Linked DNA regions of Homo sapiens: all the other regions are linked to region 1. Evidence: promoter capture Hi-C in 16 types of primary human blood cells and fetal thymus (Javierre and others, 2016). All regions are on one chromosome and are shown on one strand. The core of a region is centred on a gene start or on the middle of the fragment in contact, and the rest is flanking DNA. Distances in the headings are between cores, read along the strand shown.

Region 1 (3,402 bases), core at 366-2,865:
TAGCTAAACAGACAGATAATATATGGCCCACCCCCGGAAGCTTCTTATTAATTCTGTAATATGCTAAATACATAAAGTATAAAACTTTGCTTTTCCACTTTTACTTTCAGAACTCATTTTCGGAAATAATCCTCAGTGTTTTCTCACACAGAAGTTGATCTTTTCCTATCAACCAAAATGATGAAGTATTATAACTATGCCTTCAAATCAAAGTCTGTAACACAAATAAGACTCCAAATCTACTTCTGCTAGCGTTTCTGAATCTTTCCACTTTTAACCTAGACTACAAATAATTTAAAGTTTCACATATTGTTCCACGACCTCAAATCTAGGACCTGTCAGACTTTATTTGCCACAGGAAAGGTCAGTGAAAGAAAAGATTAGTTCAATACTTCTTTCAGCCCCACGACTGGCACTGTGCTGCCTCTTCTTAAAAAACAATGCCCTTTGTCCCCCAGCGCCCTTAGTGAGCTAGCCTCATTGTACACTGGGTCCTTAGTATTTTCCTAACAAAGGCACGTCTAATGAGATATGGAGGTTCAGAGGGGATTCCCTCCACTCCAAGTAGGTGTCAGACTGACGAACGTCTTAGAAAAATATGTCCGGTCTGTGTCCAGTCACCGTTCGGATGCATTGAATAAGCATCTTATTCGTGGCAGCCTTCTGCATGAATGGCTAGACATCTTGAGGATGCCTGTGTACTACTGTGTGCCAGGCAAGGTGCTCATGTTCAAGGCAAGCCTTAAAAAAAAAATTAGGATTTCAATGTACATTTACCAAAGCTCTGGCGAGGTTAGGTGCCTTGTTCAAGGTGTCACAGTTGGAAATGCTGTCCCAGCCAGGTGTGTGAGATCCACAGTCCCATCAGCTCATCCTGTGGTCACAACCTATTCACGGTTTGCATCAGAAACGTGGGAGGCTGTTCCTGGGTCTTACAAGTTCCCCAGATATCTCTAGAAAACGCTAGCCCAGGCTGCCCCACGGGGGGTCCCGCTGCTAAGGAGAAGTGGGCACAGAGGGACCAAGGACCATGGGCTTTCCTCAGCAGGGAGGGAACTGCAGGGCAGATGTCCATGGTGGTGATGATGAAGATGCCTTCCTTACTATCCTCTATGGCAGGCCCATAACATACCTTCCCTCGCGTAATCTTCTCAACAGCCTGGTTATTGCAGGTGACAATAACCAAGGCTCTGGGAAATTCCAGCCACTGCTCCAAGCCACCCAGCCGACCGATGGGACTTGAACCTGCGCCTCCTGGATCCGGGCGCCCTCCCCGCGGCCTCCCGAGCCCTGAGTGCTGCCCTCAGCCCTCCCTTCTCCGCGACGCCCCTCGCCCGGTTGCTCGCAGCACCCCCAAGGCCGCTCCCCGAATCCCCCGGGCGCGAGGGCCCGGGCGCCAGCTGCCCGCTCTGCCCACGCCTTCTCAGGGATCCTGGCCCTGGCGGCCGCCGCGACAGACCCACTTACGCGGATCGCGGAGCAGGACGCCCGCGGCGCGCAGGGCCGCAGCCATGTTTGCGCCGAGTGAACGCATTGCCTGGGCAGCCTCGGCCCGAGTCCGGGCTCCTCCCGCGGCGGCGCGCCCAGGTGTCCGCCCAGCAGTGGCCGAGCCGGGTAGCGATCCCCACGCGCGTCCCCAGCCCCCTGACCTCGCGCCCTCCCGGCGCGCCCGCTCATTCGCTGCCGGGCCGGGGCGGGCGAGGCCAGGCAGAGACACGCCCCTCGCGGAGAGCCCGCCCCAGCTGGGCGCCGCTCCCTGCGTGAAAATGGGCCCGGGGGCTGAGCTAGAAGCCCGCTCCCCACCACCATCGCAGGTCACTGCAAAACCTGCTGGACTCCTAGTTGCGTGCCCTGTTTGCATCTGCCAAACTAGCGAAGTCAGGATCCTCAGCCATGACTCAGCAAATAACTTTTTTCGACGTTTCCATTACTATTATTTAGATATAAGGATGCTTTTGCCTCAGTTCTCCAGTTTGCCTGCCTAGTCACAACACAAGTGTGCAGATCCTGTTTTGTTTTGCTTTATTTTCAGAATAGAAAAAGGGATTATTCAGTTTCTCTGCACCCTCTCTGTGTAGCAGAATTTGACAGGTGAAACTCACTGAAGAGCATTAGGAAAAGTGAAGGCCAGCCTGGCAAGTGCATTTCTTGGAGGGACGGTATGATGAGGTTTGTCTGTATCATATCCGCGCACCTTCCCAGTTTAGCCGCCCGTCCCGCCCCCAAGGTCGCACACTGAGATCACTGGGAGGAACAGGCGCCCATTTCATTCCTACACCTCCGTCAGCCCACCCTGCCTATATATGTTCAGTGCATTGTGGAGTAGGAAACCAGCCCTTGGTACAGAAAGGTCTCAGGCATCGGTATTCATTGAACAAATATTGAGCACCTACTATGTGCACTGGGAAAACAGTAGTGAAAAGAGTAGACGGGGGCTTACATGGGGTTAGGGGAGACACAGAAAATAATCACAACATGTAATACTTTGAATGATGGAGCCCTTCCACGGCCTCCCCTCTTCTTTTTCCCTCTCAGGACAAAAGAAGAATGAAGCAAGGTAAAAGAGATGGGGTAGGGTGGGGGAAGGGACTAATGCAATTTGAAGCAGGTGGGTCAGAGTCTCACACATTCGAGCAAAGGCCTTATACACATTTGAGCAAAGGGGGCAAGCCATATGGAACATTCAGGGAAGATGGAGTCTAGATTCAGCTGAAACCCAGTTTTCTGTAGCTTAAATATGTGCTACTGATGGAATTAGTTTATTTCTTATTAAAGTTGGTCCTCCTGATGGTTATAAGCCCAATGCAAAATGTCAAATTAAATGGATAGCCTTTCATATTACCTACATGATCTTCATATCCAAGCGGATGTCCTGAGAAAAGCACAGTAAAACCTGCTCCAGGTATCAACCCACCTTCCTTATATGTGTGGCTATTCTCTACCCTCATAAAAAAATTATAGTCTTCTTAAGTTGCCCTGTAAAGAGGTGATCTTCATGGATAACATACTTCTCTACCTACAGTCTGAACCCATTTTTGTTGTTGTTGTTGTTATTTGTTTGTTTTGTATTTCCAGTAGATACAGAGTTTTGCCATGTTGGCCAGACTGGTCTCGAACTTCTGACCTCAAGTGGTCCACCCACCTCGGCCTCCCAAAGTGCTGGGATTACAGGCGTGAGTCACCATGCGCGGCCTGAGCCCATTTCTTCTAAAGAAACTAAATTGAAAGGCTGCACACCTCGCAATGCTGTGCTGGCAGACATGTAGACAAGGCCAGAGAATAAAATGGCCGGGGGGGTTAGACGTCTGAGCTATGAAGGCTCTTCTTGTCCCCTCTGGGAGGCCCTGGAGAAAGTCATCCCCTCCATCCAGGGTGCTGGGCCCTCCTGCTGGGTAGAGATAA
Region 2 (3,545 bases), core at 828-3,327, 920 kb before region 1:
TATAGGCTAAAGATAAATACTTGTTAAAGTTAAATGTATGTTCAGAACGCCATGTTGTGTGCATATGTACAACTTTAAAACAAAAGAACTTGGTGTGGCTGGGCATGGTGGCTCATGGCTGTAATCCCAGCACCTTGGGAGGTGAGGCGGGTGGATCACCTGAGGTCAGGAGTTTGAGATCAGCCTGGCCAACATGGCAAAACCCCGTCTCTGCTAAAAATACAAAAATTAGTTAGGACTAGTAGCGGGCGCCTGTAATCCCAGCTACTCAGGAGGCTGGGGCAGGAGAATCCCTTGAATCTGGGAGGCAGAGGTTGCAATGAGCCGAGATTGCACCACTGCACTCCCGCCTGGGTGACAAGAGTAAAACTCCATCTAAAAAAAAAAAAAAAAGAAGAAGAAGAAGAACTTGGTGTAGGTGTATCTAGGCCACTTTATTTAACTGTATTATAATGGAAAACACAATGATGGGGCAAAAACAAACAAACAAACAAAAAACCCAAGAATTTATCTTGAGAATTAGGAATTCTACTCAGCCCAGTCTCCTCTTCCTAGTCTTCCTCTTAAAAGGCAGTCATATTACTGATTTTTTTTGTACGTTATCATTTCAGAATTATTCAAAGTGTGTGTGTACCCACTGTATATTTTGGTGTTTGTTTTATATCTCATACTGCAGTGTTCCATTATAAAGCTCTATCATAATTTATTTAATCCCTGATTTGTGGACATTGAAGTTCTTTCCAGGTACCCTTTAAAAATTATAGACATTTTCAAATATATAAAAGTAGAAAGAACAGTATAATGCACACTCTTGCACTAAAAAGAGCTTCGATACTTACTTTCACAGTTTGAGTTCCCTGGTGAGCGGACTCTGAGATGGAGACTCAGGCTTATTAGGGAGTGCTCTTGGGATCAACACCCAGGGAAAGGAAATAGTTTGGCCCTGGGTTAAAGTTGAGTCGTGATGAGTCTCAGAGGAGTCTCAGTTGACCCTGGGGGAAGTTCTGAAGATGGGATGACCCTTCAGTGATATCCTGATTTGTGAGGGGGTCTGGCCTTTATATTTCCATATTGATCCGTCACTGGATGTGGGCTGTCCCATGGGAAGGGTACAAGAGCTTGGACAAGCCATCTCTCTTGGGCTGAGGCAATCCTTAGTGGTGCTGACAACCTGGGCTTGTCTGCTGGGAGCTCTCTCACCAGTTGGGTCCTTCCTTCCTGAAGGAAGATTTGGGCACATAGCATCCATCATACTTAGGATACTATTTCATCTTCATTCCTTCGTCTTTTTTTTTTTTTTTTTTTGAGCCGCAGTTTCACTCTTGTTGCCCAGGCTGGAGTGCAACGGCACAATCTTGGCTCACTGCAACCTCCGTCTCCCGGGTTCAAGCGATTCTCCTGCCTTAGCCTTTCTAGTAGCTGGGATTACAGGCATGCGCCACCATGCCCAGCTAATTTTTTATTTTTAGTAGAGACGGGGTTTCTCCATTTGGTCAGGCTGGTCTCAAACTCCCAACCTCAGGTGATCCACCCACTTTGGCCTCCCAAAGTGCTGGGATTACAGGCATGAGCCACTGCGCCCGGCCTCATCTTCATTCCTTCTAACACCACTTAGCCCATATTCTCTTTCCTCTCCCAGGAGCCACTGATCACAGACATCATATGATTTTATCTGTAAACACTGCAGTTCCATTTATCTTTTAATGAGTACTGTGTTTTGGCAAAATCTTGATTAACCAGAATGCCTGGATAATGAAGCTTTCTGATAAATGGAATTTTGTGGTAAATGAAGACAATATAGGAGAGTGAAAAGTGTTGCATTAGGACCCTGGAGATCTGTGTTTGCTTTTGAGCTCTGAGATCAGTTTGATGTGTGATCTTGAGAGAGTTGCTAACAGACCTAAATATCCACCCAAATAAAAAATCCCCTGGATGGTAACCAGCTATACTCTCCATTCTGGATTGGGAAACCAGGCTATTTTTTTTTTTTTTTGTCAATTACAAAAGCGTTTCTTTTTTAAATGCTTAAATATAAAAAATAAAAGCAAAACAGCAGGAGACAGAGCGTTATTTCATAAACTTTTGAAATGACTTGGTTTGGCAAAAGCTCATTGCTTTTTTACCATTCAGAACAGTTTTGTTGAGGTCTCTGGTATCATTTTATGAAAATACTTTCTGAGTTACAATTTTTTAGAGACCAGATTCCTCTTTAGCGTCATTGCACTCTCTTTCCTTCCTCTGCCTCACTATGCTTCCCTCCTACCTCTTTCCTTACCACCCAGTTTGGAAAGCAATAGTCTTCTTGCCTGTGGCCTTACGTATTTCGCCAAACCCCATGACTTATTGTTCTTCCTCTGTAATGTCTCCTATTTTTCTTTCAGTACTCTAACTTTAGCTAAGCTTCTTCTCACTTAGCACCCAGGCTTTTTGCAGTAGCATCATATTTGGTTTATCTGTCTTTAGTTGTTTCTCTGTGGTAATCCAACCCTCATACTATCTCAAAAAGTTTGAGCATGTTGCTTCTCTATGTAGATATCTGCTTATTGGACCATTAAGTATCTTTACAATGTGGCCCAACTGAAGATCAGTGTGGAACCTTGTATTTTCTCTCATCCCCAAACCTAGAGTTAATAAATTATGGTTAAGCATAGAGTAATTTATCTTCCATGATGGAATCTAAATTGTCGATACTTCCCTAGGCATCAGTATTGTAATAATAATGCCCATCCTTTACTTAGAAAGCTTTCAGTATTTAAAACTGCTTTTTCTTTTCTTTTATCCTCAAAGTACCTTTGTGTGAAACTTGCATCAGAATCCATGTTGCATCCTGATCACCTTGGTGTGTTGAAAATCAAGTCTTATCTATTATATCTTTAGCTCTCATATCAGTATTATTATTAGTACTATTCTCACCATGAACACCCTTCACCATATATTTATTAAAGATGTCCTATGTGGTAGATGTTGTGCTAAGCATCATTTGGTAGTGAGTACACAGAGTGTGCATCTTGTAACCAGGGAGCTTGAAAGAGTGGTGGTGGAGACAGCCATTAACAGAGACGCCCCAGAAATAAGTAATAAGAGATTGTGATAAATTTAAGCACCACCATTTCTCTTCTGCAGAACTCCAGTAGCCTCATTGGTCTTCAGGTCCTCAGTTTTATCCCTCTCTGTTATATCACAGCTTGAGTGATCTTTCTGAAAAGCAATGTCAGATTTAAAGCACTTTACCTGCTTCCCTTTGCTGTCAAATTAAAGTCCAAACTCTTGAAAATGTCTTACCAAGAAGCCCCTTGTGATCTGATGCATGTTGGCTATTGGTTGTTTTTTCACCATTCTGCCTTTTTACTTTAAATGTCAGCCCTACTATTTACTGTTTAGAAAGAATTGAGATTACACCTCTGGCCCTTAGAACATGTGATTACCTGAGCCTATTCCGGTTAATTCCTACTCATTCTAGTCATCATTTCTTCTAGGAATCCTTCCTGGACCCATTGAAGTCTAGGTTAGGGAATCCATCTTTTGTGTTTCCATATGTCTTGAGA
Region 3 (3,883 bases), core at 1,132-3,631, 940 kb before region 1:
GGCTCTACTCTCATGACCTAGTTACCTCCCAAAGGTCCCCATCTCCAAATCCATCACACTGGGGTTTCAATATATGAATATTGGGGAAATGAACATTTAGTCTCTAGCATTATTAGAGTTAACTCTTTGGAACTGAGAAACTACACAAAACTTACAATCTGTGTTTTCATTTAATCACTAGCTATAAAAGAGCTCTTTTTGCTTGTGGTATTGTAGATATTGTCTAGCTAGGAAAGACAAACAAGGAAGGAAATGATAAAATTCTTTTTTTTTTTTTTTTTTTTTTTTCTGAGACAGGCTCATGCTGTTGTTCAGGCTGGAGTGCAGCGGCGTGATCTTGACTCACTACAACCACTGGCTCCTGGGTTCAAGCGACAATCCTACCTCAGCTTCTCAAGTACTTGGGATTATAGGTGCATGTCACCACACCTGGCTAATTTTTGCATTTTTAGTAGGAATGGGGTTTCACCATATTGGTCAGGCTGGTCTCAAACTCCTGACCTCAAGTGATCCACCCACCTCGGCCTCCAAAAATGCTGGGATTACAGAGATGAGCCACTATGTCCAGCTGATAAAACTCTTAACAGAAGCTTCACTTTATTCAAAGCCCTCTCTCAGGCATGCCCTTGAGCAAACACACACGTAACACATACACACGCTCATCATTCAGTCCATTCTTAAGTAGCAGATATCTGAATATCTGAGTACATCTGAGGGCCAGATACTGAAGAAATCCAATAAAAGTCAAATGTATGTTAGTGGTTTCTGTACAATAAGGAAGTGGCTTTTCACACAATGTTAAAAACAATATTTCCCATCAAAATTCAGAACATTAGTATTACAAGGTCAGTAGGAGGATCAGCCCCATGGCAACTGGTGGAAAGCACCAGGTACATCACTCCTCACAGTAGTGGGTCTGCCTGTCTCCCTGCCTCCCTGCCAGACTGAGTAACTTGACCACAAGAACCAAGTCTCTGCATTTTCTGTATGTGTAGCTCAGCATAGTGCCTAAAACCACTGGATGGTGAATAAGTGATGTTTTTCACCTTGATGAATTAGAATTAGAAGTAAAAGAATGTACTATTTCATGAAGATGGAAGTAAAGTTAAGGTAGCTATTGCCACTGTCTTCCTTACCTCAGATTATCATGGAGCAAATGCTAGGCATCTGACAATTTCATCCATAAATATTTCAGCCTGCACATCTGGAAGATGAGGAATCCTCTAAAGACATAACCGAAATATCATTATTACATTCTAATATGTTAACAAGGCTTCTTTAATATCATTAAATATCCACTCGGTTAAAATTTCCCATTTTTCTCCTAATTTATTTTATAGCTTACTTGAATCAATATCAAAATAAGACACATGCATTGCATGGGTTGATAAGTCTGATGTCTCTCTTTTATTAAAAATCAGTAAAAATCAGTTTAATCTTTGTTTCTTTTTTTCCAACTTTTTATACGGAAAAAAAAAAAACTGAGGGAAAAGTTGCAAAAGTACAATGACAGCTCCTGATTGTCAATTGTTAAAAATGGTGTCATGGTGCAGGCTGGGTTCTCTGGGAAGCTGATGCTGAGATGGAGTGAGGAGTCCAAAAGGTTTATTTCTCTCACATCTGTGAGAGGAAAAGGGAGGAAGCAGGATTGGGCCGAGGAAGGGAAAAAGCAGATCTGACAAAGTCTCTACTAACCCAAGAGGAAGCTCTAGTACAAAGATTGCCTGTTAAAGGAGTCCCCCATGGGAGCAGAAATTCCTATGCCTTGATACCACCCCCTAGAACAGGGGCCTCCCCAAGAAGAATGTGCCCTGGACTTTCCTCACCCTGCTCAGTCATTCATCAGAGGCTGCCTCAAGATTAGTGTGATCTCAGCTGGAAAGCCCAGGTGACCCTGAAGAAGCTAACAGCAAGAGTGTGAGCAAACCACTCTCCTTGCAGCTAGGAAGTGGTTCTTTCTTGAAGGGGAATCTGGGTGGTGCTTCATGTGTCTCCCATAGTCCACTATTTACACAAAAATGAGTTCCCTTCTCTACACAGGTTTGGGGAGCAACTCCTCCAGGTTTCTGGTCACCCTCTCTTCCTTATGGGAAACCTAGAAGAGGGAGGTTAGTAGACGATCTACAGCCCTGTTGCTGCAGTTGGTGACCAGGGCTACCACTAGGACTTATCAGCTCCTCCTTCATTATCTATTCTAATTTTCCCTTGCTAGTCTTGCTGGTTTGGTGAGGGGGGCTGTGAAACCCTCATTTGTGAGGAGGCTTAACACCCTAAACCTTATCACCTTCACTCCTTCCTAAAAGGCCTGAGTATGGAGTAACTAGAGATGTTTCTAGAAAAAGACATTTTGTTACTTGGAAAGAAATGGTTTGAATCATGGAAGTCATGAGACAGGAAAAAAAGAGAAGTATCAACACTTGACTTTTATGTCATGTGAGAAAGTGCAAAAGGAATCTCTTAATTGCACAAAACAGTTTTAATTACACAAAAATCATGCAAAAAACCCTTATTAAGCCTCTTTGCCATTTGGTATTAAAATAAAGCCATCGACCATGATAGGACTTTTCTGGGAGAGGGTCCAGGAAGGAAAGGGGAGTATTAGCTGAGTACTAGGCACCATGGGGAATACCAAACTACGACTGAAAACCTCGATGAGAAAAAAATAACAGCATGCATGAAGTGATCCGAAAATAACAGTAGCAATAAAGTCACTGTTAGGCCACTGGGCTATCTCCCTCTTTTGAAATTTGTAAAATGGAAGAACAAGCCTCCTTGCCTTTTGCAGAGCTAACCTGGAGCTTAAGAAGTCCAGAAGGTACTGGTGTGCTGTAGGGTAATTTGCTACTAAATTCTCAAACCCCCAACCTTGCGATCTGCCTGCCTCGGCCTCCTAAAGTGCTGGGATTACAGGCGTGAGCCACTGTGCCCAGCCTGCTACTAAATTTTAAGGACAGAGTAGTACTTAAGTTTTAAAAATGCCACTAAAGCTGGGTGTGGTGGCTCACGCCTGTAATCCCAACACTTTGGGAGGCCGAGACAGGCCAATCTTGAGGCCAGGAGTTCGGGACCAGTCTGGCCAATAGAGTGAAACCCCATCTCTACTAAAAATAAAAAAAATTAGCCAGGTGTGATGGTGTGCACCTGCAATCCCAGCTACTCGGGAGGCCGAGGAAGGAGGATTGCGTGAACCCAGGAGGTGGATGTTGCAGTGAGCTGAGATGGTGCCATTGTACTCCAGCCTGGGTGACAGGGCAAGACTCCATCTCAAAAAATATATATATATATGCCTCTAAAATGGTGAAATTCCCGATTTTATCCTGTGGGTCTCATTTATGATTCTTTTGCAGTGATAACCATACATTTTTGGTTACAACAACAATGACGACATCTCACTTGTCTCCTTGCTTCCCTGTATTTCCCACCTGATTTACATGGCACATTGCTGCCAAATTAATATTTGTGGCTGGCCCATCTTAAGTGACCCCGATAAGTCACACTCTTGTATAATCCTTTCTCCTTGAGTACAGATAAAACCCGTGACTTACTTTAACCAATAATATATGGCAAAGGTGATGGCTGTCACTCCCTAATTTAGGTTATCATCTACATCCATTTCCATATCTATGTCCATGTCCATATCCATGGCTGTATCTATATCTGTGTGACTCCTTTCTTGTGCTCAGTAGAGAGATTCTCCTTGCTAGCTTTGAAGGAGTATGCTGCCATGTTGCGAGAGAGCCTTTAGTAAGGCCCATGTGGTAAGGAACTGTGGGTGGCTGCTAGGACCTGATGGCCACTTCCAGTTCAGAGCCAGTAAGAAGCCAGGGCCCCTAGTCAGACAGCCACAAGGAACTGAATGAGCTGACAGGAGTTTGGAATCAGA
Region 4 (3,682 bases), core at 16-2,515, 880 kb before region 1:
TTTAAAGAATTAAAATGTAAGAAAATTAAAAAATCTGAAGGTACCCTTTAAGATATAAAATTTTGAAATAATTCAGGATTGTGTAGTTCTGAAGGGTTATTGAGAACAGTTGAGGAAGTAATGTGTTTAAATGTTCCAAGAAATATAAGCTTACATTTTAGAAGGAGGATAAGGTAAGTATTTAAGCCTGGTACAGGCAGACTATAAATCACAAATGTTTTGGTGATGATGGCAAGGGCGTATTATAGGTACCCAGAGAAACAAGGAGCTTTGGTAAACTACTTGAAAAGACCTGAGAGGTTTGACTAACTACATATTGACTTCTTGAGAGGTGTTGGAATCTGTGGTTTTGAGGTTTCTAATATTAGGTTATTTGCCATTTCTGTTTTTTTAAGAGTATATAAAGGTTCAGTTTCTTGATAAAACAAACTACTATATATCATTTGCTTGAAATAAAGCTGTTCACAGTATAAAAATTATATGACAGATATAAAGTCCTATACCATTTTTATCATTCCAAGTTATGTTTATTATTTTTAAATGAGTGGTTTTCTCATGATTTATTGCTATTCAGATGTGACAGTTCTTATGAATTTTAATAGGATTCAAATTTAAACTCGAGCTTTTTATGTTGTTATTAAATTATATTGCCACTTCAAATATTAGATATAGGAGATGTATTAGAAACTTTTTTTTAAAAACAGCTAAAATTTAAACTGGGCTATTAACTTTTCATCTGTACTTGGACTGTTTACTATGGTACCTTAAAATATTTCATAAATAGGTAGTGATGCACATAGTATAAAATGCAAAAGGTATAAATATTACTAAGGAAGTGCAAGTCTCCCTTTCTCTCCTGTTCTCCAGCTTTTTGGTTCCCTTAACCTTGAGTGCAATGTCTTATTAATCCTTCAGATATTTTCAATTTTACAGTGTTTTAATGCTTCAGAACTATAGAATATTAGCTTAATTTTATTCTGACAACTACAAAATTTACACAACACAGCGTGGTTAGAGAGAGAATGATTTTCAGATTGGAGTAGTTGTGAGAGGTAGACTTGGGTGAATTAGCAAAATCTGAACTCTGGGATAGGGGAGGCCAAGAGTGTACCAGTTGCCTGGGGAATCTGAAGAGAGCTGGTGAAAGGGAAGGCAGATATTTTTAATGCCTTTGGAGTGCTGCGGCAGGAAACTTCCTCCAACGCTCCATCATTAGAATTATGTAGTTACAGATGAGATGATCTGACATCGTCCCTTCCACCTCCCTCCCAGTTTATTTTACCTTTCCCTGTTGCTTATCGTTCTCCTTTTATTATAGATTTTAGCTTTAAAGAGTCTATTGTCCAAGATCCAGGCACTTTTTCTTGTATTTCCACATAGGTTACTCTTAGAGAAAGAAACTAGGTTTTGGAAAAAATACTGAGGGAATAAAATTATTTTAATATATCAAGAGTACGTTATAAAACATTTTCCTTAACAAACCAGATAGATATGATTGACAGCAGTGAAAATTCATGAATTAAAAAATAACACTAATCACCCAGTATAATATTGCCAACTTATTGAATTGTGGTGATATTTTACATGAAACTATCCATATTTTCTTAGTTGATTTTCAATTGTGGTAGGTAGCTGGATTTAGAAGTACAGTTTGTGGTATGAAACCTTTGTGTGTGTAATACAGTGTGATACCATTTATTTACATTTTAAAAACACAAATCCATACTGCATATTTTTGGATACATGTATAGGTAGTAAAAATATTAAAACCGAAGGGAAAGCTAGTGCCAAATTCAGACCCTGGTTTACTTTTGAGAGTGAGAGGAAGGAGTAGGGAAACTTATTAAAGTGTCATGTTTTATTTACTTTTAGTATTATAGCTATTTAATATTTACTATTTATTTTCCTCATTTACATTGACGATTAAATTCTCAGAGCTGTCTTTCTGTTGTTAGAATTATTCAGAACAGAAGTTTTCGAAAATGCCGAAAAATAAACTGTTTAGTACCAGTGATATGTTTCTACATGTAAGCATATAGGCTAAGTTCTTTAATATATTAGTTAAAGAATGAATACTTTTTGTTTAATTTATCATATTAAACTTTTGGTCACGTAATCTCCAAAAATACCCAGAAGGGGGCAGCATGGATTTGTGAAAACAGGAATGTGCGTCATCTAACCTGAACACTAGTGTTTGTGCCTTCAATTGACAGTATTAAAACCAGTATTAGATTCCCGGCTCCTAGAAACAGGTATGCTAATATGAATGGAACACGTGACTGTGTGTATACCAGTGTGGCTAATGTTCACAGCCAGTAAGGGCAATTGACAAATTAGATATTCTTTTTAATATATCATACTATTATTCTGACAAAGTACTGAAAGCTTTTGCCTGAATTTGCTCTTATCTCCCATTTTTGATTCTAGATTTTTGTTATTAATTTAATTTGAATATTGCATTTAAAAAGCAATGTCTATACCTATAGCTTAATATCTGAAGTCAAGCAGAGCAAACTTTGTGAATACAAACTAAGCAAAAACAGGAAGCAGAACTAACATTATTTTCTTAAAATACAATGTACATAATGTTCTGTGTCATCCTTTTTCCTTTAACACTTAATTCTCTTTGATTTTGAGAACATTTTCATATATTTTTATGTATTTGGCACCATCTTTTTGATATTAATTTTATTTTTAAAAATTAAATAATACATAGTTATAGAAAATAGAGATATTTTCTAAAGACATCATATTTGTCACTAAGAATATTCCTACAACATCATTTTAAATGATACTCTGTAATTCATTTTTATTGGACATTTTAGAATGTTGCTTTAAAGTTTTTTTTTTTGCCTGTTATCAACGGTGGGAATGATAATTAGTACAGCTAAATATTTTTGTAGCTCTAGAATGGTTTCTTAGGATAAGTTCTTATACTTGGAGTTGCTATAAAAAAGGGCATATTAATTTTTAAAGGCTTTTGAACAGGTATTGTCAAATTGCTCTTCAAACAATGAGGAATAGGTTTGTACAGTCACCATTTTACTACCGTAATCCTTCATCATCCTGTTTATAATCTTTTAAGCCTTGCTAATTTTCTAGTCTTGAAAGCAGCTGTATGTAGAGCATATGTAACTATAGCTCTCACGTTCATTTTAAAGCACAAATGTATTAATATTACCAATACTATATTAGTTGTACATTCTGGTTGGTTTTATATTCTTGATAATTTTATGTTTTCCAAATTTGTACTACTATTCTATACTATTGTTTAAAGATAAAAAGTTGAGGCTGAGCATGGTGGCTTACACCTGTAATTTCAACAATTTGAGAGGTCAAGCTGGGAGGATCACTTGATGCCAGGAGTTCAAGACCAGCCTGGGCAACATAGTGAAACCCTGTCTCTATCAAAAAAGAAAAAAAAAAAGCTGGGTTTGGTGACATGGGCATATAGTTCTAGCTACTTGGGAGGCTGAGGTGAGAGGATTGCTTGAGCCCTGGAGTTCAAGGCTGCAGTGAGGCATGATTGCGCCATTACACTCCAGCCTAGGTGACAGAGTGAGACCCTGTCATGCTATGAATATTATGTATACATTCAAATATTAGGTTGTGCAAGTAATTTTTGTTATTTTAATGGCAAAACTGCAATTTAATGTCTTACACCTGTCTCTTGTGTAGGAGG
Region 5 (3,491 bases), core at 341-2,840, 980 kb before region 1:
TAGGTACATAAAAATTAGGTGTAAAAAATATTTATTCAGTAAAGAGTCCATTGATCTTCTATATTAATATGTTAACCCAACCTAATATTCAGTCCATAAGTCCTTCAACTGGTTTTGAGCTCACTTGGGCAAAAGCAGAGGACATGCCCCAATCAATCATCAAAAGGACTTTGGGGCTAACATTCCAACGAGGAAAAGAAAACCAACACCCCTCAACTGAAATGTAATCAATATATTAAACTAGCACAAACATAAAAGAACTTGATGCAACTGCTATATTTGTTTTCCAAAAGAATTCTATAGTTCCTAGGAAATAAAATTTAAAGTTTAGAATGGATTAAAACTATTCAACTAGTTAAATCTAAAACATTTTATAACAATTTAATTTTATTGTGATGTTATGCCTCAAAATGTAATACAAAATTAAATATGAAACAGTAGAAAGTAAAAAAAAAAAAAGGCTAGTGAGCAACACGGTATGGTAAAAAATTAAAGCACCTAGTTGCAAGCCCAAAACAAAAGCCAAAACAAAATAAAAGGCCAATTAAGAAACACAACTAGGATGAGATCTGAAGAAAGAGATGATTGAGGAAACCTAGGTAACAAGGCTGATCCAGATGATAGAAGCTGTAGAAATCTTGCACCAACAATGGCGAGAACATGGGAAGGGTGAGAGCAGACAGGTGCTAGATGAGCAGAGAAGCAAGGAGGGGAGTAGAGTGAGACAAGGTCAATCTTTATATTACTTCATTTTAAAATATCTTCTGTTTTTAGTTCATTTGAGTTGGATTAAAAAAGCTGAAAAATAAACAGACAGAAATGTTACAAAAATAGCTGATACGGTGAATGGCCAGTTTAGAAAAGTCTATTTTTATTATAGTGATAAAAATCTTTTCACATGCACCTCATTTCCTAAGAAGCAGAAGCCCCTATAATTTTCTCATTTTTGTATTTTTATAAAATTGTAATTAAAAATTCTGTATTAAAATAAAGCAATCCATATAAAGAGCATATTTTAGCAAAAACATCTACTTCCAATTAAGATGGCAATGGCAAGCTTTTCATGCTGCAACACAAAAAATCCATTGACAACAACAAACAGCCAAAGTATAGATTATAATCTGTGCGTGATGCCTATAAGAGCCAAAACCAGACAAGTGGAAGGGGTATTCTAGTCTGTCAAACCTTAAAAGTCTAACCTTCAAAGTTGTAATAGCATGAAAGGTTGTCTAAGATTTCTGTCCACATTGGAGATTCAACAGCATTACCTTAGCTTCTGTCAGATATCTTAGTGACATAAGAAGTCAGTGACATACTAAAAACGGAAATTATCCAGAAACAGCTCACACAAGATAAAAATATAAACTGAAAATGCTAAACATTTGATCTACTTTATTATTCATTAAGCCATTTTATATAGCGCCCTTCACTACACAGAGGTCATCAAAATTTTCCTCCCTGTGCCTATAAAATATATGCCAAATCTATTTCAAAATTTTCAATTCTAGGCCAGGCATGGTGGCTCACGCCTGTAATCCCAGCACTTTGGGAGGCCCAGGCGGGCGGATCAACGAGGTCAGGAGATCGAGACCATCCTGGCTAACACGGTGAAACCCCGTCTCTACTAAATATACAAAAAAATTAGCCAGGCGTAGCGGCGGGCACCTGTAGTCCCAGCTGCTACAGAGGCTGAGGCAGGAGAATGTGGTAAACTCGGGAGGCAGAGCTTGCAGTGAGCCGAGATCACACCACTGCACTCCAGCCTGGACAACAGAGCAAGACTCCGTCTCAAAAAAAAAGAAAAAAATTTCAATTCTAATTACTATGTATATACTAATTCAGACTGAGCAAACAAGTAAAAGAAAAGACATGCCACATGTGACTTGTCCTTGAACGATTGAATCCTCCACCTTCCTAAGTTCATGTCCAGGTCCCTACTTTTCCATTCTATCAAGGGTGCCCATAGCTGCCTGTTGAACTGTCCAAATTCTACTCTCAAAACTTAGTTCAAGGCCCTCTTTCTTCACAAAGTATTCTCAGACTTTCCCAGTCGTTGGGGGAAAAGGAAAAGTCACCTAGCTGGTAACGTCTGAGAATACTCTGTGGACAAAGAAACCCTTGAACTAAGCTTTGATTAATTTTGATTAACTTTCCCTATGTTTGTCCCTATGTTATCTACAAGAATATAAACTGCTGTAGACAGAGATCATGACTGAAGAGTAGTCCCTCCTTATCCATGCTTTCACTTTCTGCAGTTTCAACTGCCTATGGTGCAGTACAATAAGATATTTTGAGACAGTGAGAGAAAGAGCAAGCATGGGAGAGACCATATCCATGTCAACTTTTAACCACAGTATATTGTTGTAATTGCTCTATTTTATTATTAGTTGGTGTTAATCTTTTTTATTTTTCTTTCTTTTTGATATGGGGTCTTGCTCTGTCACCCAGGCTGGAGTGTAGTGGCGTGATCCTAGCTCGCTGCAGCCTTGAACTCCAGGGTTCAAGCGATCTTCCCACCTCAGCCTCCCAGGTAGCTAGAACTACAGGTGTGCCCACCACCTTGCCTGGGTAATTTTGTGTGTGTGTGTGTGTGTGTGTGTGTGTGTATTCTTATAGAGATGGAATCTTACTATGTTTATCAGGCTGGTCTTGAACTCCTGGGCTCAAGTGATCTTCCCACCTCAGCCTCCCAAGTAGCTGGGACTACAGGTGCACCCACCGTCTTGCATGGGTAATTTTTTTTTTTTTTTAAATAGAGATGGAGTCTTACTATGTTTGCCAGCTGGTCCTGAACTCCTGGGTTTAAGTGATCTTCTAGCCTTGGCCTCCGGAAGTGATGGGATTATAGGCATGAGCCACCATGCTCTGGCTTTGTTGTTAAATCTCTTACTGTGCCTAATTTATACATTAAACATTATCAGCGGTATGTATATATGTACAGATGCTCCTCGACTTCCGATGGGGTAATATATCCCGATTAAACCCATTGTAAAGACCAGGCACGGTGGCTCATGCCTCTAATCCCAGTACTTTGGAAGACCAAGGAAGGCAGTGAGGTCAGGAGTTTGAGACCAGCCTGGCCAACATGGTGAAACCCCATCTCTACTAAAAATACAAAAATTAGCCGGGTATGGTGGCAGGCGCCTGTAATCCTAGCTACTTGGAAGGCTGAGGCAGGAGAATCACTTGAACCCGGGAGGCAGAGGTTGCAGTGAGCTGAGATCGCACCATTGCACTACAGCCTGGGTGACAAGAGTGAAACTCCATCTCAAAAAAATAAAAATAAGTAAACCCATTGTAAGGTGAAAATATTGTAAGTCAAAAATGCTTAACTGCCCCACACTTAAGAGAATGGTTTCTACTGAGTGCATTATCAATTTTGCACTATTGTAAACTTGAACCATCATAAGTTGGGAACCATCTGTATAGGAAAATACACAGTATGTACAGGGTTTGTTAGTGTCTGTGGTTCCAGGCATCCACCGGGGGTC
Region 6 (3,396 bases), core at 346-2,845, 960 kb before region 1:
TTAATGAGCCCAGATGTTACATTTAGTCTTCATAACTAATAGTGTTAAGTCTTCTAGCTTTGTTCTCACTGAGAGAAATTAAAGAAAACCTAAATAAATGGAGGAATTTACTCTGCTTATGAATTTGAAACTCAATATTGCCAAGATACCAATTTTACTCAATTTGATCTTTACAACTGATGTAAGATCTCAGCAGGTTTTCTTGTAGAAATTAACAAATTTCCATTCTAAAAATTATAGAGAAATGCCAAGGACAGCCCAAGTCGTTTTGAGGTTCTAATCTGAAAAAATTATATTATCAGATCTTAAGAACTATCATAAACCTTTATTAAGAGAATATAGTACTTGTACAAGAATAAGCAAAATGATCAAATCAGTTTTCCTTTGAAAGAAGAGTCTAGAAACAGACCCATCTCACATACAGTACTCTGATGTCTGAAAAACTTGATGTAGCATTGCAGTGGGAAAAGGATGGTCTTTTCAATAAATACTGCTAGATCAACTATATACTCATACAGGAAAAGAAATGAATCTCAACACACCATACACAAAAACCAATTCCAGATGGGTTGTAGATCTAAATGTAAAAGGTGAAACAAGGAGGGTTTTAGGAAAAAATACAGGAAGACACTTTCAAAACCTCAAACTAAGCAATGATTTCTTATACAAAACACAAGAAGTACTAAAAAAAAAAAAAGGTTTGACAGACTGGACTATATTTGATAAACTGGAAGATTAAAACCTTTTATTCATCAAAAAATGTCTTTAAGAGACTAGGAAAAAGTATTTGCAAAACATATCAAACAAAGGACTTATACTTCTAATACGTAAAGAACTCCTACAAAACAAGGAGAAGACTGAAACCCAAAAGAAAAAGAATGAACCCTTGAATAGGTACTTGACAAATGAGATTATCCAAACAGTCAATAAATAAAGTCAAAAACTTTCTATAAAGCAGGAAAGATGTTCTACTTCATTAGTCATCAGGGATACCCGGGAAATGCAGATTAAAACCAACTCAGCAAAAATAGCTACAAGAAGAATTAAGTATTGTCAAGAATGCAGAGCAACTAAACTTTTATATACTGTGAGAGTGCAAGCTGGTATTAACCATTTTGGAGGGAAAAAAACCAAACTGCTAAAATACACCAACCCATCAAAATTCCTGGGGAATACATCTAAGACACATGTTCACCTTAGAACATTTGAAAAAGTATTATTAGTAATAGTTCTAAGAGTCAAAAATCAGAAACAATTAAATTCTTATCAACAAAAGAATGGGTAAGCTAATTATAGTTATACAATGAAATACTACACAATAATGAAAATAACTGGTATAAAACCTCTTGCAAAAACATGGATGAACCTCACAAATAACATTGAGGAAAGAAAGCAACTACTAGCATATACTATATGACTACATACAGTTCAAATACAGACAAAACCAATCAATGGTATCAGAAATCAAGACAATGGTTACCTTAGTGAGTTACTGATAGAATAAGACTTCTGGAGGCTAGCAATGTTTTGTTTGTCTGGAAGCTGATTAAATAGGTGTGTTCAGTTTGTGAAAATTAATTGAACTATACATTTCTAATTGTGTGCCATGTATGTCTCAATAAAAGTTTGCAGAAATAAGAAATGCAAGAAAAAGCAAATCTAATGCACAAAATAAAAACAAATGTTAAAACTCAAGTTGTGATCAACTCCACATTCTTAACATTTCAATCAGCATTTCACCTTGTGTTATCCTGAAAGCCATACACCAAAAATCTAAGAAAATAATATTTACAGTCAACTAAAATTAGTCTTAAACTTTATAAATGGGAATATATATCACTACACTGTTTTTCAAAGGCCACTGATTGGGTCATATCTATTCATTTTAGATGAACACAAGCCAAGACCCAATAATTGCCCTTTTGAAAGTCTATTCCATTTTAACAACACTTACTCTATTTCACAATAACATGTAGTATAAGGAAGTTCAATGTAACATGTTTGTAATAGTAAAGTTAGAAAACAACTTAAATGGCAATTAATGGAAAACTAGTTTAAAAAGTTATGACAGGGGCCAGGCACGCTGGCTCACGCCTATAATCCCAGCACTTTGGGAGGCCAAGATGGGCGGATCACTTGAGTCCAGGAGTTCTAGATCAGCCAGGCCAACATGGTGAAACCCCATCTCTACTAAAAATACAAAAATTAGCCAGGCATGGTGGCGCATGCCTGTAATCCCAGCTACTCAGAAGGCTGAAGCAGGAGAATCACTTGCACCCGGGAAGCGGAGGTTGCGGTGAGCCAAGATCACACCACTGCACCCCAGCCTGATACTTTGCAGTGTTTAGGGGGGAAGAAAGTCTCATTATAAAATGTTCTCTAGGATCACATTTCAAACCTATGTATATATATAAATGCATAGGGGGTAAAAAGACAGAGACAGGCACAATGAACAGTTAGTATCCATAATTCTGCATCCTTTGCTTTTTTGTGATGAATAGGTATTTTCATTTTAAAATATTAAATGAGTTGAGAAGAATTTAGTGTTAACTGCATTTACACAGGTGTCACAAATTACAGAGGTATCCATTCTATAGTACAATATATCCATTCATGAAAACCACCCTCCTGCAAAAACACACACCAAAAAGAGAGAATTTATGGGAAAAATAAGTTTGTTGGCAAACTACTTGAAACCCATGCAATTTTGTAACAAGATCAGTAAGAAAGATAGTAACCAGACTGGGCCCGATGATGGCTCATGCCTGTAATCTCAGCACTTTGGGAGGCCAAGGCAGGTGGATCACTTTAGGGTGGGAGTTCAAGACCAGCCTGGCCAACAAGGTGAAACCCCATCTCGACTAAAAGTACAAAAATTAGCCAGGCGTGATAGCGGATGCCTATAGTCCCAGCTATTCGGGAGGCTGAGGAAGGAGAATCACTTGAACCCGGAAGGTTGTAGTTAAGCCAAGGTCACCAAGATCGTGCACTCCAGCCTGGGCAACAGAGCAAGACTCCAACTTGGAAAAGAAAAAAAAAAAAAAAGACAGTAACTAGGATTCAGGAAAAAGATGGACATCCCAGCATGTGGCTCAGAGCTGGAAGCGACCTTGGGGAATATTTGAAAAGAACAAAATCAACTGGAAATGATGCTTACAGGTGTTGTGACAAAGCAGACTGAAGTGGAGCTCTGAGCCAGTGGGGCTGCCATTAAGGAAGGGACAGGAGAAAATGCAACACTGAAAATAAACCCTTCTGGGGAACAAACGCTAGGTGTAGGCACTCTTATTTAACTTCATTAACTTTCTTAAAATAAACAAGAGAGGGAATTTGCCTGTGTGGCTGAGAGCTTTCTGCTTCCAGATGAAGGTTTTATTTCTATTTTTCACTACCTAG
Region 7 (3,457 bases), core at 285-2,784, 900 kb before region 1:
TGTAAAGCTGATTTTATTCAGGTGTTTTATTAATTTATTCAACAGTTCTGTTTTAGATGCTAGAGGGGGATAAAAACAATTATCACGAATTCTATTTCAAAATAATTCAAAAGGGAGGATAAGATGTTAGGAAAATAATTTTTGTTAGCTATTTAAAAATTTTAATATAACTTAATATATGTGTGTGCACATACACCCATATAATATGTACCATTTGGTAAATATCTAAAATTCTTACCGAAGAAGTTGAGCTTTAGGAGAATATTGTAATAACCTTGATGAATGCATATTAATCAAGTATCTAAATTAAAGGAGAACACTCAGAAATCTTTTTTCCTTTTGGCATGAATGTAGTTCTACCAGTTCTCTGTTGGGAATCAGCGAGAAGGAAGGCTTTTATGCCACGGACATTACCCTGAAATCCTTGTTGTGGATGCTACCAGCCTTGAAGTATTATACTCCTTAGTATCAAAGATATCACCAGACTGGATTAGCTCCATGAGTATTATTCGATCCCACCGAACACAAGGTCAGTGTATTATGCCTGTTAGGAGCTTTAGCACCATGACTTAATGTTTAGTTTACTAGAACATTCTACAATTTATCATAAATTAATACTTTGGGATATATTCTTCTATGTAAGAAATAACTACACCAATAATTTATGGTCTGTTTCTTCCTTCATAAAGAAATCTTTGATTGAATGAAGACTTAATTGTTGGCTTATCTCCATTCCATGATGTATAGATCATCAGCTTTTGACAGAGTATATGGGTGATTATCTGAAGTGGAGGAAGAATAGCTTAACCTTTGGGGGTGTAGTTTTACCTTTGGGAAGAGCTGTAGTTTTACCTGTATATTTCTGGGGCCTGGTTCTGTCACTTGCTTAAGAGGCATAGGGAATGTTTCCATTTCAAATGGGGACAGTGAAAAAGGAGAGATTATACACAGTTAAATTTAATGAAAGTTCCTGGAAGGGGCTGATATGTACTTGATGCTCAATAAATATTATTATCTTTTCTTCATTTTTGTTGAAACCTCTTAATAACAACCATAAAAGCAAAAGTAAAGTTGTCAGGAAAAGAGTAATAGTTAATGCAGAACATTGAATGTCTACTTTTATAAGCCTTTTAAGGAGCATTCTTTTACTTTCAAATGGCTTCATAGTTATGTGCTTCCTATAGAGGCCAGTAAATAACCACCACCACTACCACCGGTATCAGCAGCACCATCACCATGAGGACTTTCATTTACTGTGTGTTTACACTACCAAGCACCATGCTAAGCATTTACATATGATCAATTCTCACAATACTTAGTGGGGTAGGTACTGTTAATATTCATCATATAGATGAGGAGAATGATGAGAGTTAGTGTGATGCCATCTTTGCTAAAGGACCCCGGAGTAGTTACTTTAACCACTGTGTTACACTGCTTCCCTCCCATTAGTGAATTGCCTTCAACTTTATAGGAGCTTTTGCTTTGTAACCTCTTAGGGTAGGAAAATCAGCACATAGCTTTTTATTCAGTAGTCATTCAGCAAATATTTATCGAATGCCTACAGTCTTCCAGGTGCAAGGGATTGAAATATTAATACTTAAGGGAGTCAAATTCTAGTAAAGGACAATGATATATAAACAAATAACAGTTTAGAGTGCAAAGTGTGCAAGATGGAAAAATAGTATGGAGAGGATGGCAGTGAGGCTGATTGAGGGCAGTAGAGGGCTGTCCAGATCAGATGAAGTCTGATCTAGGATTTGGAAGATGAGAAAGAGTTTAGCAGACCTGCGATCAGGATGTTTCTGGCAAAGGAGATAGTCTGTAGGTACAAAAGCATTAAAATTATGATAGGTGTATATGTGAAACTATAGATTATCTTTTTCTGGGACAAGAAGTATGAGGGAAGGAGTGGCAGGATATAAGGCTGGCAGAGCTGGCAGGAGACAGGTCTTGAAAGCCCTGTGTATCAGCTAGGGAATTCACTTTGTGGATCAGGGGTTGTCAAACTTATACTGTAAAGGGCCAGATATGAAATATTTTAGGCTCTGCAGGCCATATGGTCCATGTTTCAACTACTCAACTCTGCTGTTTTAGCACAAAAACAGCCGCAGACAATACATTAGTGATTGAGCCTGGCTGTGTTGCGATAAAACTTTATTTACAAAAACAGCCAGTGGGCTGGAGTTGACTCATGAGCTGTAGCTTGCAGGCTCTCACTGTAGATGATGGGCAGTCTCTGAAGGGACTTATGCTTTAAACTTCAAAGATGGGAGGAAATTAAGAGATTAGTTGCCCAGCTGAGAGTGGTGCAGGCCTGCACTAAAGTGGACTGTCGGAATAGTGGATGCACTGGCTTCATTTCCTGCCGCTGTTCTTCAGAGTGTTGGTTCTGAAGTTTGTTAATAGGTATTTGTCAAAAAGGTGGGATCTCTGGTTAAATATATTTGGGAGATGTTTGGTAAAATAAAATTCAGCAGGCTTCTCTAATGTGAACCTTCTCAGAGAGGTTTTTTATGCATATTAGAGAATTACTGCTTTATTCCTAAGCATAACAGTGAGAATGAGATTTGCGTTAATTTTCCAGGCAATAGGGAACTAATCATTCATATATTTATCTCTAATATTAGTTACAATGAATCTTTTATTTAAAACAGATCTGTATTTGTGACCAAGCGGTTTGCCTATTTAAAATTTTTATACTCCTTTTATATATGTTTACACTGTAGTCTGAACAGAATAGACTGTAACTTAAATCAATTAATTTCAATGCCTTACAGTGCCTAGAGAACTATGTGATATTGATAAGGTTTTTATTTAAAGATAACAATTTTTTAAATAACAGTAATAACTCAACTTTATTGAGAATTTAGTATGTGCTGAATGTTTTCCCTTGGCGTGTCTTAATTTTTATAACAACCCATTAGGATAGGTACTGTTGTTATTCATTTATATTTGCTTCCAGATAAGAAAATTGTATTTAAGATAGTTTGTTATCTAAAGTTCATTGGTTAATTAGTGAAGAAAAATGTGATTTTGCTTTTAACATTCCCCTCCTTCACTCTGGAGCCTACGTTGACTGCTTTCCAATGCTCATCCTCTCAAAATTCCTGTACGTGACCCTGGTGCTGTCACTAGTCCCTTACCTGAAGCTTAGGAACTTAGATTTTATATCATATCTTTCTCTTGATCACACTCTGGGGAGGGTGTAATGTGCAATGAAGTATCTGGAAGGTGGCAAGGTATGTGGGAAAGGGGGAGAAATTTGTGCCTTGAAGAAATGAAGTGCTTGAGCTCATCCATGATAAAGAATTAGAAGTTGTAAATTTTGAAGTGTATAAGTTCATTGTTAACATAGTAATCAAGAACATTTGAAATTATTAAAAACTTCTTGATTAGAAATAAAAAATTCAATTAGCTAGAAATAATTTTCCTTGAATTTTAAGTTGTTGGCCATCTT

What was found. Contacts are between HindIII fragments. The CHiCAGO score rates a contact against its expected background, and 5 or more counts as called.
Region 2: a contact is called between a fragment that was not itself captured here and the fragment with the promoter of FECH in region 1, in 2 of 17 cell types (naive CD4 T cells and activated CD4 T cells). The highest score is 7.1, in naive CD4 T cells.
Region 3: a fragment that was not itself captured here is called in contact with the fragment with the promoter of FECH in region 1 in 6 of 17 cell types (naive CD8 T cells, naive CD4 T cells, fetal thymus and 3 more); the score reaches 9.9 in naive CD8 T cells.
Region 4: a contact is called between a fragment that was not itself captured here and the fragment with the promoter of FECH in region 1, in 9 of 17 cell types (naive CD8 T cells, megakaryocytes, total CD4 T cells and 6 more). The highest score is 9.6, in naive CD8 T cells.
Region 5: a fragment that was not itself captured here is called in contact with the fragment with the promoter of FECH in region 1 in 1 of 17 cell types (naive CD8 T cells); the score reaches 6.1 in naive CD8 T cells.
Region 6: a fragment that was not itself captured here is called in contact with the fragment with the promoter of FECH in region 1 in 6 of 17 cell types (naive CD4 T cells, non-activated CD4 T cells, total CD8 T cells and 3 more); the score reaches 8.2 in naive CD4 T cells.
Region 7: a contact is called between a fragment that was not itself captured here and the fragment with the promoter of FECH in region 1, in 3 of 17 cell types (naive CD8 T cells, megakaryocytes and M1 macrophages). The highest score is 6.4, in naive CD8 T cells.

Annotation. Positions count from the first base shown.
Region 1 is chr18:57,585,087-57,588,488 of GRCh38, forward strand. It overlaps FECH (ferrochelatase), which reads right to left and starts at 1,616. Exons shown (of 11, transcript NM_000140.5): 1 at 1,468-1,616. The coding sequence starts at 1,534. RefSeq lists silencers at 1,308-1,357, 1,368-1,427, 1,438-1,797. The HindIII fragment of the contact is 11,690 bases long and covers 39-3,402 here.
Region 2 is chr18:56,664,916-56,668,460 of GRCh38, forward strand. All of the region lies in intron 1 of WDR7 (WD repeat domain 7), which reads left to right. Among named protein-coding and RNA genes, the nearest start is that of WDR7, 15 kb to the left of the region's middle. The HindIII fragment of the contact is 642 bases long and covers 1,757-2,398 here.
Region 3 is chr18:56,646,313-56,650,195 of GRCh38, forward strand. No RefSeq gene overlaps it. Among named protein-coding and RNA genes, the nearest start is that of WDR7, 3.1 kb to the right of the region's middle. The HindIII fragment of the contact is 3,586 bases long and covers 589-3,883 here.
Region 4 is chr18:56,700,966-56,704,647 of GRCh38, forward strand. All of the region lies in intron 12 of WDR7 (WD repeat domain 7), which reads left to right. Among named protein-coding and RNA genes, the nearest start is that of WDR7, 51 kb to the left of the region's middle. The HindIII fragment of the contact is 2,236 bases long and covers 148-2,383 here.
Region 5 is chr18:56,604,587-56,608,077 of GRCh38, forward strand. The region is part of intron 7 of TXNL1 (thioredoxin like 1); the gene reads right to left. Among named protein-coding and RNA genes, the nearest start is that of TXNL1, 32 kb to the right of the region's middle. The HindIII fragment of the contact is 1,071 bases long and covers 1,056-2,126 here.
Region 6 is chr18:56,627,174-56,630,569 of GRCh38, forward strand. The region is part of intron 1 of TXNL1 (thioredoxin like 1); the gene reads right to left. Among named protein-coding and RNA genes, the nearest start is that of TXNL1, 9.7 kb to the right of the region's middle. The HindIII fragment of the contact is 7,386 bases long and covers 1-3,396 here.
Region 7 is chr18:56,682,325-56,685,781 of GRCh38, forward strand. It overlaps WDR7 (WD repeat domain 7), which reads left to right. Exons shown (of 28, transcript NM_015285.3): 5 at 355-529. Among named protein-coding and RNA genes, the nearest start is that of WDR7, 33 kb to the left of the region's middle. The HindIII fragment of the contact is 3,226 bases long and covers 1-3,147 here.